Linked DNA regions of Homo sapiens: regions 1, 2, 3 and 5 are each linked to region 4. The links are contacts of gene promoters, found by promoter capture Hi-C in blood cells and fetal thymus (Javierre and others, 2016). All regions are on one chromosome and are shown on one strand. The core of a region is centred on a gene start or on the middle of the fragment in contact, and the rest is flanking DNA. Distances in the headings are between cores, read along the strand shown. Region 1 overlaps OSTF1 (osteoclast stimulating factor 1). Region 2 overlaps CARNMT1-AS1 (CARNMT1 antisense RNA 1). Region 3 overlaps CARNMT1 (carnosine N-methyltransferase 1). Region 4 holds the start of ZFAND5 (zinc finger AN1-type containing 5). Region 5 overlaps OSTF1 (osteoclast stimulating factor 1).

The links. Contacts are between HindIII fragments. The CHiCAGO score rates a contact against its expected background, and 5 or more counts as called.
Region 1: a contact is called between a fragment that was not itself captured here and the fragment with the promoter of ZFAND5 in region 4, in 1 of 17 cell types (neutrophils). The highest score is 5.2, in neutrophils.
Region 2: a contact is called between a fragment that was not itself captured here and the fragment with the promoter of ZFAND5 in region 4, in 3 of 17 cell types (total CD8 T cells, non-activated CD4 T cells and naive B cells). The highest score is 7.8, in total CD8 T cells.
Region 3: a fragment that was not itself captured here is called in contact with the fragment with the promoter of ZFAND5 in region 4 in 2 of 17 cell types (fetal thymus and total B cells); the score reaches 8.4 in fetal thymus.
Region 5: a fragment that was not itself captured here is called in contact with the fragment with the promoter of ZFAND5 in region 4 in 1 of 17 cell types (fetal thymus); the score reaches 5.1 in fetal thymus.

What each region holds. Positions count from the first base shown.
Region 1 is chr9:75,121,158-75,123,857 of GRCh38, reverse strand. The region is part of intron 2 of OSTF1 (osteoclast stimulating factor 1); the gene reads right to left. Among named protein-coding and RNA genes, the nearest start is that of OSTF1, 34 kb to the right of the region's middle. The HindIII fragment of the contact is 9,426 bases long and covers 1-2,700 here.
Region 2 is chr9:74,954,238-74,956,937 of GRCh38, reverse strand. All of the region lies in intron 1 of CARNMT1-AS1 (CARNMT1 antisense RNA 1), which reads right to left. Among named protein-coding and RNA genes, the nearest start is that of CARNMT1-AS1, 2.6 kb to the right of the region's middle. The HindIII fragment of the contact is 4,014 bases long and covers 1-2,700 here.
Region 3 is chr9:75,024,895-75,027,594 of GRCh38, reverse strand. The region is part of intron 1 of CARNMT1 (carnosine N-methyltransferase 1); the gene reads left to right. Among named protein-coding and RNA genes, the nearest start is that of CARNMT1, 2.0 kb to the left of the region's middle. RefSeq lists an enhancer at 421-470. The HindIII fragment of the contact is 836 bases long and covers 849-1,684 here.
Region 4 is chr9:72,363,822-72,366,521 of GRCh38, reverse strand. It overlaps ZFAND5 (zinc finger AN1-type containing 5), which reads left to right and starts at 1,314. Exons shown (of 7, transcript NM_001102420.3): 1 at 1,314-1,826. RefSeq lists silencers at 1,076-1,455, 1,466-2,295 and enhancers at 903-1,607, 1,608-2,311. The HindIII fragment of the contact is 8,298 bases long and covers 1-2,700 here.
Region 5 is chr9:75,093,478-75,096,177 of GRCh38, reverse strand. All of the region lies in intron 1 of OSTF1 (osteoclast stimulating factor 1), which reads right to left. Among named protein-coding and RNA genes, the nearest start is that of OSTF1, 6.3 kb to the right of the region's middle. The HindIII fragment of the contact is 1,505 bases long and covers 578-2,082 here.

The sequences.
Region 1 (2,700 bases), core at 139-2,638, 2.8 Mb before region 4:
CAGGCAGTCCATTTCAGTCAGGCAAAAAGTGACCTCATTTTTTCATCCCGAGAAATTACAGTCGACAGTTTATTCTCTTTTAATCCATAGCTCCCAGACACGGAATGCTACTACTCGTAAAATGTCTTCTTCTAAAGAAACTAGGGACACGTTTTCCTAATCTAGCTAAGTACCAAATTCTTCACAGTGTTGGTGGCAGTACATACAACACGGTAATTTCATTATTTTAACAACAGATTTCACCTGCAATATTCACATTTTCCATTAAGAAACCACTAGCAGGATACCTGATCTAAATTGTTCAATGAGCACCTACTTTTAAATTCCCAGCATCACAGTTAGGGAACAGAAATGGGAAAACAATAACATAATGAAGTATGCACTTCTCTGTTTCCAGCTTTTCTTTGTTTTTTGTTTTTTGTTTTTTTGTTTTTTTGAGACGGAGTCTCACTGTCGCCCAGGTTGGAGTGCAGTGGCACGATCTCGGCTCTCTGCAGGCTCCGCCCCCCAAGGGTTCACGCCATTCTCCTGCCTCAGCCTCCGGAGTAGCTGGGACTACAGGTGCCTGCCACCTCGCCCGGCTGATTTTTTTGTATTTTTAGTAGAGACGGGGTTTCACCGTGTTAGCCAGGATGGTCTCGATCTCCTGACCTCGTGATCCACCCGCCTCGGCCTCCCAGAGTGCTGGGATTACAGGCGTGAGCCACTGCGCCCGGCCTTTCTTTGTTTTTTAACTACATTCCTCCTTTCCTCTCTCCTTGAAGAACAGCAAGGTATCAGAATAAGTAGGCTGTTGTCCACTGGGATGTTACAGCAAAGAGTACACACTTGGTAACATATATTCCCATTCCATATATTCTTGGTAACATATAATTCCCAAGGCATTAATTTTGTTGGTTTATGCAAATATATTTTATGAAAAGTTTAGAAAAACTGATATACTTTTGAAATTTTTAAGATTTGTCAGTCTGAAGCCCCCAAAATTAATAAAAAGAGAAAACAAATTCTCCACAGATGTTTTTATTCAACACTTTATAGTATATATTATGTGCCACGTACTGGTCTGGGCATTCAGAAATATTAACTAATTTGTTCCTCACCAAGAACACTATGAAGTGGGTGCTATTCTTATCATCATGTTACAGATGAGAAACCTCTCCAAGGCCATAGAGCAGGTACATGGTAGAACCTGGACTTGAACTATAAGTCAGATTACGAAGTCCCTGCTCTTACCCACCACCTGTGCTTTCTCTCATACAAAAGGCATCACACACAGCCATTATTGGCCATCATGGTGTCATGACCAGATTAACAGCTGGCCACCTTGGAAAATATCTGTCTGTATACACTCCCAACTGCCCTACCCCTATAGTACAGTATAACAAAACCAATGGCAGCATATTTTACTTGCAAAGTATACTTGACCTCATTTGGTCCTCACAACTCACTAGGCTTGGATGGGTCATGGATATAATCTCTATTTCACAACCAGGCTTAGAGAAGTTAAAAACTCTCTACAAATCAGAGTGAGTGGCAGGGCTGGGCTCCTATCTCAGCTCTTAGATTCCCAGTCTCCTTCCTCTACACGTGGCTCTATTAACCTAGTGCAGCCCAGCAACCTTTACATGACAGAGCAGGGTCCTGCTGGTTTCCCTTTGGAAATCAATGCTCCTCTTAACACAGGAAATTCTGTTCCCTCCTCATCAGTCTGTCTTGACACTCGTCAATTCAGTCCAGCCAGGTCCGTGGTTGACACTTTATTAAAAGGAGCTGGGTGAGAAAAAAGAACCAAATGGGGCTGGGTGGTGCCAAGACACCCTTGCCTTTAAGCAAGACAAATGAGAAATGGGTTGGCAGGAAGAACCAGGAGCTACCTAGCGTTCTTCCTGTTCAATGGATCCCCAAGACTGGGGTTGCGCATTGCTGTCCCCATCTCCTGAGGGGGAACAGGAGCTTAAAACTGGACCCAGGCCTGCCTGGGGAGCTGCACATGCCAGCAATGTCCCTCAGAGCCCACCTCAGCCTTTCAATATTGCCTGGTCCCAGTGATTTCGAGGAGGCCAGGTCAGCTTAGGATATGCTGTGGTGTATCTATCCCTCCAGAGAAGATGGCTGCTGGTCAGAGGGGAGAGAGAGAGACCAAACAGCTTCCAACAGAAATTCTCATTCAGAAAAAGAAGATAAGACTAACCTAGTTCTGGAATGAGATTCAAAATTTAACAATGGGTATGGCATGGCACTTAACCAGTCAGGAAGGTCTGTGGGAGCTAGAGGCTACCTGCTGTACCAGATGCTACCCCCTTCATACCTGAATTGAACGGAGCTGAACAGGGGAGAAATATAGAGGCAACAGGGCTTGAAGTGGTCATTACTGACTGTAGCCTATAATCCTTGGGACTAAAAATATTAAAAATACAACATTTTAAATATAGAATATTTTTTAAAGCCTAAAGAATTAAATGTATATTCTCCTGTATATTCAATAATAACTAAGATTTTTTTAAAAGCAGTGGAGAAACTCCATCTTAGAGTAGAATTGGAAGTAAATAAATCAATACACAACCCATCAAAAATATCTGTTAAATGTCTATTAATATAGCAACCACTATTCCTTCGATAGTAACAATTACTCCTTAATAGTAAAAGCAGCTTTAGGCAATTAATCTCATTTAATTCTCACTAAAACCTGGTGGGACTATT
Region 2 (2,700 bases), core at 181-2,680, 2.6 Mb before region 4:
TGAAAAAATAAAGATGTATATGAACAGTCCTTATGGCAACCACATTATTAATTCAAAGAGGTATAGCTAAGTAAATACCAATAGGTTAACTTAAAATGAAATTCATAACGATAGGAAGGAGGTAGAGTAACAAGAAAGGAAATTTTGAAAGTATTTCAAACTGAAAGATAATAAAAATACAACATACCAAAATTTGTAGGATGTAGCCCAAGCAGTGCTACAGGGAAAGTTACAGCTTTAAGTGTTTATTTTAGAAACTAACAAAGACGGCTGGGCACGGTGGCTCACGCCTGTAATCCCAGCACTTTGGGAGGCCGAGGTGGGTGGATCACCTGAAGTCAGGAGTTTGAGACCAAGCTGGCTAGCATGGTGAAACCCCACCTCTACTAAAAATGCAAAAATTAGCCAGGTGCGGTGGCATGCACCTGTAGTCCCAGCTACTCGGGAGGCTGAGGCAGGAGAATCGCTTGAACCTGGGAGGCAGAGGCTGCAGTGAGCCAAGATCGTGCCACTTCACTCCAGCCAGAGTGACTCTGTCTCCAAAAAGAAACTAACAAAGACTACAATCAGTGACCTAGGTTCTATTAGAAGAAGCTAGAGAAAGAAGAGCAAAGTAAATCCAAATTTAGTAGAAGCCAATGAAATGGGAAAAAGAGAAACTAAGAAAATATTCCAACAAATGTGATGAATGAAATGGACAAATTCCTTGAACAAGTGGATCTGGTACTACTTACAACTTAGGGTAAACTAATTTCAAATTCTACTTCTGGGGCCTTAAAAAAAAAAGAACCCAGAGCAGCAACAAAAACTCAGAAAATGTTATTTAAAAAGAAAAAGAATATTGTCTACAAAAATTATAAAGTGCCTAGGGATAAACTTAACAAAGATATAAGCTCTTTATGTTGAGAAATATAAAACTTTATTGAAAGATTTTTAAAAACTTAAATAGTTATATTCTTGAACAGGAAATGAGCTTGGTATTGTAAAGATAATAATTCTTCCCAAATTGATCTATAATCTCAATGCAATTATAACCAAAATTCCAAAAGGGTAACTAAATGTTACAGAGGATGCTATTATGGAAGAACAAAGGGCCAAGTATAGTTGACACACTCCTAAAGAACAAGATGTCAAAGACTGCTCTCAAAACTTTGATCATCTTGATGGTGGTTATGGTTTCACAGGTGTATGAATGTCAAATTGTACACTTTATATGCACATTATTGTGTGTCATTTAGACCTAGGTAAAGCTGTTTTAAAAACAAAAACAAAAAAAAGCCCGGCAAAACAAGCCTGGGCAACATAGTGAGACCTTGTTGCTACTAAAAATAAAAAATTAGCTGGGTGTGGTGGCACAAGCCATGGGCCCAGCTACTTGGGAGGCTGAGGCAGGAGGATTGCTTGAGGCCAGGAAGTTGAAGCTGCAGTGAGCAGTGATCACGCCACTACATTCCAGCCTGGGCAACAGAGCAAGACCTGGTCTCAGAAAATATATTAAGCTGGGTGTGGTGGCTCATGCCTGTAATCCCAACACTTTGGGAGGCCAGGGCAGGCAGATTGTTTGAGTTCAGGACTTTGAGACAAGTCTGGGCAACGTGGCAAAACCCTGGCTCTACAAAAAAATTTTAAAAATTAGCTGGGTGTGGTGATGTACACCTGTAGTCTCAGCTACTCAGGAGGCTGAGGTGGGAGGACTGCTTGCCCCTGAGAGGTCAGGGCTGCAGTGAGCTGTAATCATATCACTGCTCTCCAGCCAGGGCAACAGAGCAAGCCCCGTTTCAAAAAAAAAAAAAAAAAAGTTATTTAGCAATATACATACAGACATACAAATGGAAGAGTTAAAAAGCAAAGGAATGATTAACTCAACATGTAAAACGGTAATTACCGGGAGTGAGGGAAAGGGAAGGGTATGTGCCAGTGGGGAAGGGACGCATAGGGAGCTTGTCATGTTCTAGTATAGGTAGTATTCTATTTCTGAAACAGAATGCTGTATGTCTTACTATCATTCTTTTAACTACATGTGTATTTTATACAACCTTTTGCATATATGATAAGTTTCACAATTTTGAAAAAATGAGCGTTTGTAAAGAGGAACACAAAAGAACCAACCATTAGCTAAACTTATTATTTTGGGGGTACTCAAAACCTTTCAAACAGCACTTGATGACTACGATTAAGATCTTTCCTGCTGATTTAAAAATGGCAAAACTCTTCCTCTGTTTGAGACAGACGGGTTTTCAATTTATTTTTTTTTTTTTGGAGACAGGGTCTCACACTGTCACCCAGGCTGGAAGTACAGTGGTGCAATCTTGGCCTCTGCCTCCAGGGTTCAAGCGATCCTCCCACCTCAGCCTCCCTGGGACTACAGGTGCAAGGCACCACCTCTGGCTAATTTTTGTATTTTCTGTAGAGATGGGGTTTCACCATGTTGGCCAGGCTGGTATGGAACTCCTGGGCTCAGGTGATCTGTGCACCTCATCTTCCCAAAAGTGCTGGGATTAAAGACGTGAGCCACCGCACCCGGCCGGTTACCAATTTCAAACAAGAAAAGTAAAAACCAAACAGAAAAGCTATTGCTTACTACCCTAACTTGGTACATTTCTGTGCTTGTTAATAACTAATAATTAACTTGTCCTCTCACAACCACCTTGAGATGCAGGGGTACAGGGTAAATTAGTACTGAGATAGTACCTAGCACTA
Region 3 (2,700 bases), core at 17-2,516, 2.7 Mb before region 4:
AGTTCACCTACGCGTGGGATGCTGTAGGACGTATTTTCCCAAACTGTTACCAGTGCTTGTAAGAGCAGTTTAAGATTTCCACCCACCCCTCTTTGGCGCTGTGAACGCACTTGCACTTTTGTGTGAGCGATTGAATGATGCTGCTCAGTGTCTTTAACTGGTGGGTGATTAAGGGCGGAAGTGGTCCGGATATTCTAAAATTTGCTAATTATTAGGAGAGATGAGAGAAGTCACAATAAGAGCTGCCTTTACGTTCTTTTTTTCTGCAAATCTGTATCTAATTCTCCCTGGTGTGCTAGGCACTGTGGTAGGACCTTTATGCTCCTCATTCATAAAAACAGCTCCCTAACTTCCACGTTTCTTCTAGATAGATGTTAAAGTAGCTTAATCACAAAATTATAATTCCAAGAGCTGAAAGGGACTTAAATCAACTGGATTTTCAGGTGAAGATAACACTTTTATTCACGTAAGAGATATGAGTCCACCGGTGACTATGTTCTGAGGCTGCAGTTGGAATCAGACAGACATGACCTCCTACGCAGGTAAACCTGTTCCCATAGGTGGGTTCCTGCTGTGCTTTATGCAAAGTTTTTTTATATTGTTCATCTTATGTATTATAGTTGTTTTTATAAATCTCTTGCTTTGCTGTGACCTCCTCAAGGGCAGGGGCTGAGTCTTTTTTATTTTTATGTCACTAGTGCTTGGCATATGTTGTTTAAGCTCTATTTTTAACAAAACAAATAGTAGCAAAGAAATACATTTCTCATTCCCAAATAGTCTGTCAAGTTTTTGACTGATAGTTAAATTAGTTTACTAGTCTGAATTTAGAAGCTTGCTTAGTGAAAGCTTAAAGTTATTTGGAATCTGATTGTATATGTGATAGGAACTTTTGAACTTCGAAGATCTTGATGAAATAATTTACTGATTAAACCCAGAAATAGGGACCAGGGACAGCATTACTTTACGGAGCCCAAAAGAGAAGTTTGGATATTTTATTTCTCCAGGTTTAGTAGTAACAGAGGGAGCAAGGCGTCAGACCATCAGAGAATTGAATTTGATGCAGGAATTGTGACGGAAAGAACCATAAAGTTAGGAAAGGCAGCTAACATCAGATAGCTAAGAGTGGGAGATACAGAAAAGTCTGGTACATTTTGCTCTTGAAAAATCTAGAAAGAATATTGGGAAATGTCTTGGGAATATGGTGGACCCATTTAGTTAAGTGCGTAGTTGTACTTACTTTTAATATATTAGGACCAATTTAAAATTGATATTTATGGGTAAGTATGGGATGGGACTTTGTTGGGGTAGGGGTTGATCAGGAACTGAAGTGTGGCAATATAGAGAAGAGATCTTGTGTGAATATTCTAGTGGTTGTGATACTATTTCCTATACTCTCTTCTTTACCAGCGTAATGTTGGATTCAGGACATTTCATTTTTTAAAAAAAACAGTTTTTATTTGTATATACTCTCTTGAAACACTTCAAATACTTGGGCTGAAAATAGTATAACATCAAAAATATGCTTTTTAAAATGTCACTTAAAGCCTAGGGGTACAGAAAGTTTATGTAGCAGAGAACAGTGGATTGTTACATTCTAATATTTTGTGATCTTCTAGACTTAAACTGTAGCCACTAATCATATCTGGATAAATTTAAGCTAAAATTAATTAGTATTTAATAAGCTTTAAAATTTAGTTGCTCAGTTTCACTACCCATATTTCAGGTGCTCAATAGCTACATGTGGCTAGAGTCTGCTGTACTGGACAGTGCAAATAAAAGCTTTTCCATTATCGAAGTAGGTTGTGATGGACAATCCGGTTCTACACATTTAGCAAGTACAGTTGACCCTTAAACAATATGGATCTGAACTGCACGGGTCCACTTATACACAAATTTTTTGAAATAAACATATTGGAAAATTGTTTTGACATTTGCAACAATTTGAAAAACTTAGCAAACTTGCATAGCCTAGAAATAGTGAAAAAATTAAGAAAAAATTATGCCATGAATGCATATGTGTAGATACTAGTTTATCATTTACTACCATAAAATATACACAAATCTATTATAAAAAGTTAAAATTTATCAAAACTTACACAAACACAGATCTTACATGGAGCTATTTGCAATTGAGATAAATGTAAACAAGCAAAGATGTAGCATTAAATCTTAGTTGCATAAAATTATCTGTAGTAGATACTGTACTACTGTAATAATTTTGTAGCCACTTCCTGTTGCTTTTGCAGTAAGCTCAGATGTTACCAGTATCTTCTTAAAATAATCACTCTGCTTTTGTCTGTCAAGTAAATTGCATATAGCAGTAAACAGATTTCATCAAATTTAATGCAATACCATAAACCTTAAATAACACCATGGGTCCCATATGACGTGCCACTGGTGATGCTGCAGGTGCTCCCAAGAAGCAGAGAAAAAAGACATTACAAGAAAAAGTTGATTTGTTTGATATGTACTGTAGATAGAGGTCTGCAGTTGGAGGTTGCCCCCCAACCCCATTTCAGACAGAGGATTCATCTTGTAATCAAATTATGTAAACTTATAGTATTGATAAATGCAGTGCAGTAGTGTAAATGTATTTTCCCTTTCCTACGACTTTCTTAATATTTTCTTAGCTTTATTGTAAGAATATAGTACGTAATATATTAACATACAACATATCTGTCAGTTGTTTATGTTATTGGT
Region 4 (2,700 bases), core at 65-2,564:
GGTACTTTGCTAACTGTGGCGGAGAACTGTTTGATTTGGCAGTGGTGGCTCAAGCTATCAGTATAGCATTCCCCCAAATACAGATTATAAATAAGGACCACCTGAAGCGCAATATGGGCCCCCCCCCACCCCCGCTCCCACCCCGGAACAACCAAAACCATATCCAGGGGAGATGCGTAGGAATCTTTAATCACCCCAGGTGATTTTTTTTCTGATTACCAACTTTGAGAAACACTGAAGGGACCTCTTCTCCATTCTATATGTGGCTAATATAAACCCTAAACATCATTTCTATGTATTCGTTAGACCGTTGTTTACTAGAAAATTTCAGAAGTCCTTTCCGACTTAGTAATTTTGTTATTTTGAGTTGAACTGAAATTCACTTGGAGCGGTCAGTTGAAAATGTTTTTTGTTTGTGCTCTGAAAAGGTTCCCAGTGTTCCGGGTAAAGTCATCCTTTCACCCATGGGGGACCTGTGCCTCGTGCCTGAACTGCCCGCCTAGTACCTCCCCCCTTGAACTTCCTCTCGCAAGCCTCCTCCTCCCGCTTCATCTGGGCCTCGGGTCTAGCTTGTTTTGTCCCTTCGCGGCTTTTGAGTAGAACATTTGGTGCTTTCCCAGTTCACGACGCTTTGCTGGAATCGTCAATTTCCAGGGATTTCACAGGCTGGCCAAAACAGTTTGTTCAGAACAGCGCCGCCGGGGCATTGGCAGCCCTGGGCGGCCGCGCGTTTCCTCACTCCGCACAACCACCCGTGACCTTGGGCGAGCGAACGCACGCCGCCAGCTGCGTCAGGGCCACGCTCGGGCTGGACTTCGGAGCTCAAAATGGGTGTGGGGAGTGAGGAGGTTTCATAAACAGAAAAGACCTCGAAGCCATAAGGCAATTCTTTTCCTTTTCTGGGGGTGAATCCTTACGATTCTTGGGGGAGGGAATGTCTGCCCAGGGCTGGAGACAAAGCGTGAGAACTAGGATGGCGAAAAACGGGTTTGAATGAGAAAATCCGAAGGAGGGAGGCTGAGGGCGGACAATTGGGTTAAAAATAGAAACGCATCCTCCACAGGACTCGCTCTTCCCAGCTCCACCCTAGGGGCCGACTGCCAGGCCAGTGGCTGGGCTCCGCGAGAAGGCACAGCAACCCGTCTCGGCCCCGCCTCCTGGACCTACTGACAGGGCACCGGGGGCGTGGCCTTGGGCCCGCGACGTCACCGCGCTCCCCGCCGCCGCCGCCGCCGCCGGGGTTTTCGCTGACGCACGGGTCCCGCCCCCTCCCCCTCTTTTCCCTCACAGCCCGGGCGCCGGGCGGCGAGTGCGTTAGTCGGCCGGGACGCGGAGCTGTGTGCATCTCCTACGCGGGCTCGCTCGCTCCCGGGAGCCGCGCAGCTTCCCCGGCGGTGGCAGGAGCGGCGAAGAGCGCCATCAGCGGGCCCTTACGGCCCCAGGCCTCGCGGCGCGCGGTCCGCTCGCCCTCCTCGTCCGCCCAACCTGCGGCCTGTGGAGGCGTGAGGCGACGACAGGCGAGCGCCTCGAGCAGCGTTAGCCGCTGCGGCCGCCGGTCCTCCCTCCACCTCCTCCTCGGCCCCCCCTCGCTTCCCTCCTCCCACTTCCCGAGCTCCGGCGTGTCCCGGCCACGCTCGACGCTGCTGCAGGAACAAAGGAAGACCCCGCGGCGGCGGCGGCGCCACCTCCGCCTGCTGCTCCGACCCGCTCCCGGCCCGCGGCGGCGGCACCAGGGCGCCCGGCTCAGCCTTCCCGGAGGCCTCGGCCCGGCCTCATCGTGCCGGCTTCGCGCGCGAACCCGGCTTTCGCATTTGGGACCCTGCAGGGTGAGTGATACGGGGCTGCGGGTGGGAGCCGGGCTCCTTGTTGCCGGGCCGGGGGCGGGAGTGAAGGGACCGGGGCGCCGCGGGCCAATGGCGAAGCCGGAGCAGGCCGCGGATGGCGGCGTCCGGGGGAGGGGAGCCCGCCCGCCAGCCCAGGAAGCACAAAGACGGAGGCGTCATCCTGTCGTCGTGGCCCGAGACCTGGCTCCCGGCGTCCCTGGCTCGCTCCACAGCACGGTCGGGAAACAATGCACGGCGTGCCGCCTCTGCGGGGCCGGCCTCTAGGCCGCTCGCCTCCGCGGCGGCGCCCGGCGTGGGCACCACGACCCAGAGAAACAAAGAGGCCGAGGCGGCGGCCGCGCCCCCTGCCCGTTGCAGCCCCCCCTAGCTCTCCCCTAAGAGGAGCCGTTCGGGGTCGGGGGTCGGGGGTCGGGGATCCGCGTGGGGCCTGCAGGCGAAGGGCTGGCCGGGCCTGCTGAGCTGCTGTTCTGCATGACTCAGTGGTTTTCGGAGAGGGCCCTGTTGGGCTTTATTGAGTGAGGCCTTTGCTTAGAGGGGGATGGGGTATCAGTGGGACCCGAACTTGTTCCAAAATCCATTGGAACATGGGGCCGGGGGTTCTCGGCGTCGTCTTTTGGGCTTCTCGACGTCGCTGCGTTTTTATCCTGAGATCCGTTTTCATGGAGGAAATGGAACACCTCCTTTGTTTGGTGCATTTAGGCTGATGAATGTGAAATTTTTTGCTCGCTTTCCACGCACTCCGTGGAGGTGTGTTTTCGGGGAAGGGTCGGATTATCTTTATTGATTGAGTGTCTCCTAAGGGATAGCATCTAAGGAGATACCAAGATAAAGGAACATATAGGTCACACATCCCCGT
Region 5 (2,700 bases), core at 81-2,580, 2.7 Mb before region 4:
GCTCACGCCTGTAATCCCAGCACTTTGGGAGGCCGAGGCGGGTGGATCACGGAGGTCAGGAGATCGAGACCATCCTGGCTAACACGGTGAAACCCTGACTCTACTAAAAATACCAAAAATTAGCCAGGCGTGGTGGCGGGCGCCTGCAGTCCCAGCCACTCAGGAGGCTGAGGCAGGAGAATGGCGTGAACCCGGGAGGCGGAGGTTGCAGTGAGCCGAAATCGCGCCACTGCACTCCAGCCTGGGCGACAGAGCAAGACTCCATCTCAAAAAAAAAAAAAGGGGGGCCACAGCAGTCACACCAATAACTTGTTTAATTGATTTGCAGTTGCTAAATCTCTTCAACTCGTTGCCCTAAACTAAACACCTACAGCAACTGTTAACACTGAGAAACAGATAAGCAATCTGTGAAGAGGGCTGACGTGTGCATTTAAATTCTTGCTTTCTGTGTGGAGCAATACCATTTTTCACAAACTGTTACACTGGGTAAACGGCCTTCCCTTTATTCAGAGAAAATTATCTGGTTCACAGTTCTCTGTGCACATACCAAATTTCCTTGACTTCTCTGAAAGAAGCTTAGCCCTTATTTAGTTAGACAAATGTGGACAGGAGGATGCATTATTTCATTTCTGCCTGAATCAAATGACTTTTCCCCCTTTGCTGCCCAGCAAACTCTTACTCAGCATTGGGAACTCTGCTTAGATTACTCCTCTTCCGTAACATCTTCTCAGCTGCCTCAAGCTCCTTGCCCCATGCTTCCCAGCCCTCTGATCACACTTTGATAACATCTCCTATCACAAGCACTGAGATTTTTCTGTTTAAGACATGCTCATACATTTTTGGTAGGGAAGTAAACTGGTATGACCTCTTTGAAAAGCGATTTGGAAATTTCTATGAAAACAGCAGTGCACTTACCCTCTGAAACAACAAATCCCACTGCCAGGACTTTATCCTATGGATTTACGTGTGTAAGCAACAACAATACTATTGGGAGACTATTTGTTATAACAAAAGATTGAAAACAATCCAGAAGTACGTTAATTAGGGTCTGGTTAAATGAGCTCAGCAGAATACTATGTAGTTATTTAAAAGAACCAGGAAGTTCTCCTGGTTCTAATATTTGTGTTGTATTGTTTGTTTGTTTATTTGAGACAGGGTCTCGCTCTGTCACCCAGGCTGGAGTGCAGTGGCACGATCTTGGCCTCCCAGGCTCAAGTGATCCTCCCACCTCAGTCTCCTAAGTAGCAGGGACTACAAACACGCACCACCAAGCCCAGCTAATTTTTTCATATTTGTTGTACAGAAAAGGTTTCACCATGTTGCCCAGGCTGGTCTCAAACTCCTAGGCTCAAGCAATCTGCCTGCCTGGGCCTCCCAAAGTGCCAGGATTACAGGTGTGAACCACTGTGCCTGGCCTGTACATTTTTCTGAAACTCCTTTAATTTGATAAGAGAATCTTGACACCTCACTCATATCAGCCCACTGAAAGGTGTCCCTGTATCATTTTTTTTTTAATGTAGTCTTTCCCTGTCCATTAAGCAAGTGAGGACAACTTTGGCAATGGGTTCTGTTATGCCCTGAGGTATAAGGTGTGTATTAGAAAATCTCACTGCACTAGTCACGTAAGTCAAATTGTGGGAATGCTGAAACGCCAAGGGAGGGGACCCCAGTATTTCCAGAAGGGAGGAATGCTTATCAGAAGCACATAACCTCCAGCCTTTGCTACTTTGTAGTAAAGCTACAAGAAAAGCCCAATCACAGTCTCTGAGTCCACCCCCACCTTCTTTCAGGGAAAAAAAAAAAAACCCACCTTTTTTTTGTATCAAAGCGTTTTACATTATCTGTCATTCATAACGATTTAGTGGCTGTGCAGTTACAAAGAAATAAAAGACTGTTCCACTCTCAAAAAGTGCATAGTTTAATGCTCTAATACGGATCCATTGAAAGAGGGCAGTTACACAAACCAAATACCAATAATACAACTGCATAAGCTAATAAAATGACTGTCCAACAAAAGCAGGTCCAACCCAATAACATCTCTGGCAGGTTTCTCTGCTCATATGCATGGACTCAATTAAAGCTTCTGTTCCACTTCCAGGTCACACCAACCACTCACTAGCTTTGAGATCTTAGATAGTTTACTTGACCTCATTAAGTACTACTTCATCCATAAAACAGGGATATGAGGACCCACCCACCTGATAGGAAAGTCAGAATAATTAAAGGAGACAGAGCATACACAGTGCTGGGTGCAGTGCCTGACATATGGGGCCAAATATATGTTAACCATTCCCATCATCATCATCATTGTGAAATTTTCAAGATGTTTCTCAGGCTTTATTCTGCCAACAGGTATAAAAAGTATCAAGTTTATAAAAGAAGACTATTCACGTGCATATTTCACCTCACTTTTGATTAATTCCTTTGTTGGGGTAAAAAATACATAAAAATTAAGTTCATTTTAGATAAAAACCTTTTTTTCTCAAAAATGTTATTTAAGCAGCATGCGTGTGATGTCTTTTAAGTTTTATGATGTTTTTACTCTGAATAACAAAAAAACCTGAAACACTGACATTTGCTTCTTCAAAGTTCCATGAATTTATTTTCACAAGGCACATGAAATATTTATGCTTTACTTTCACCACCAAAATCAATAAGCCATTTGGAAAAAATGGCCAAGGTCAGACACCAGGTTTCCAA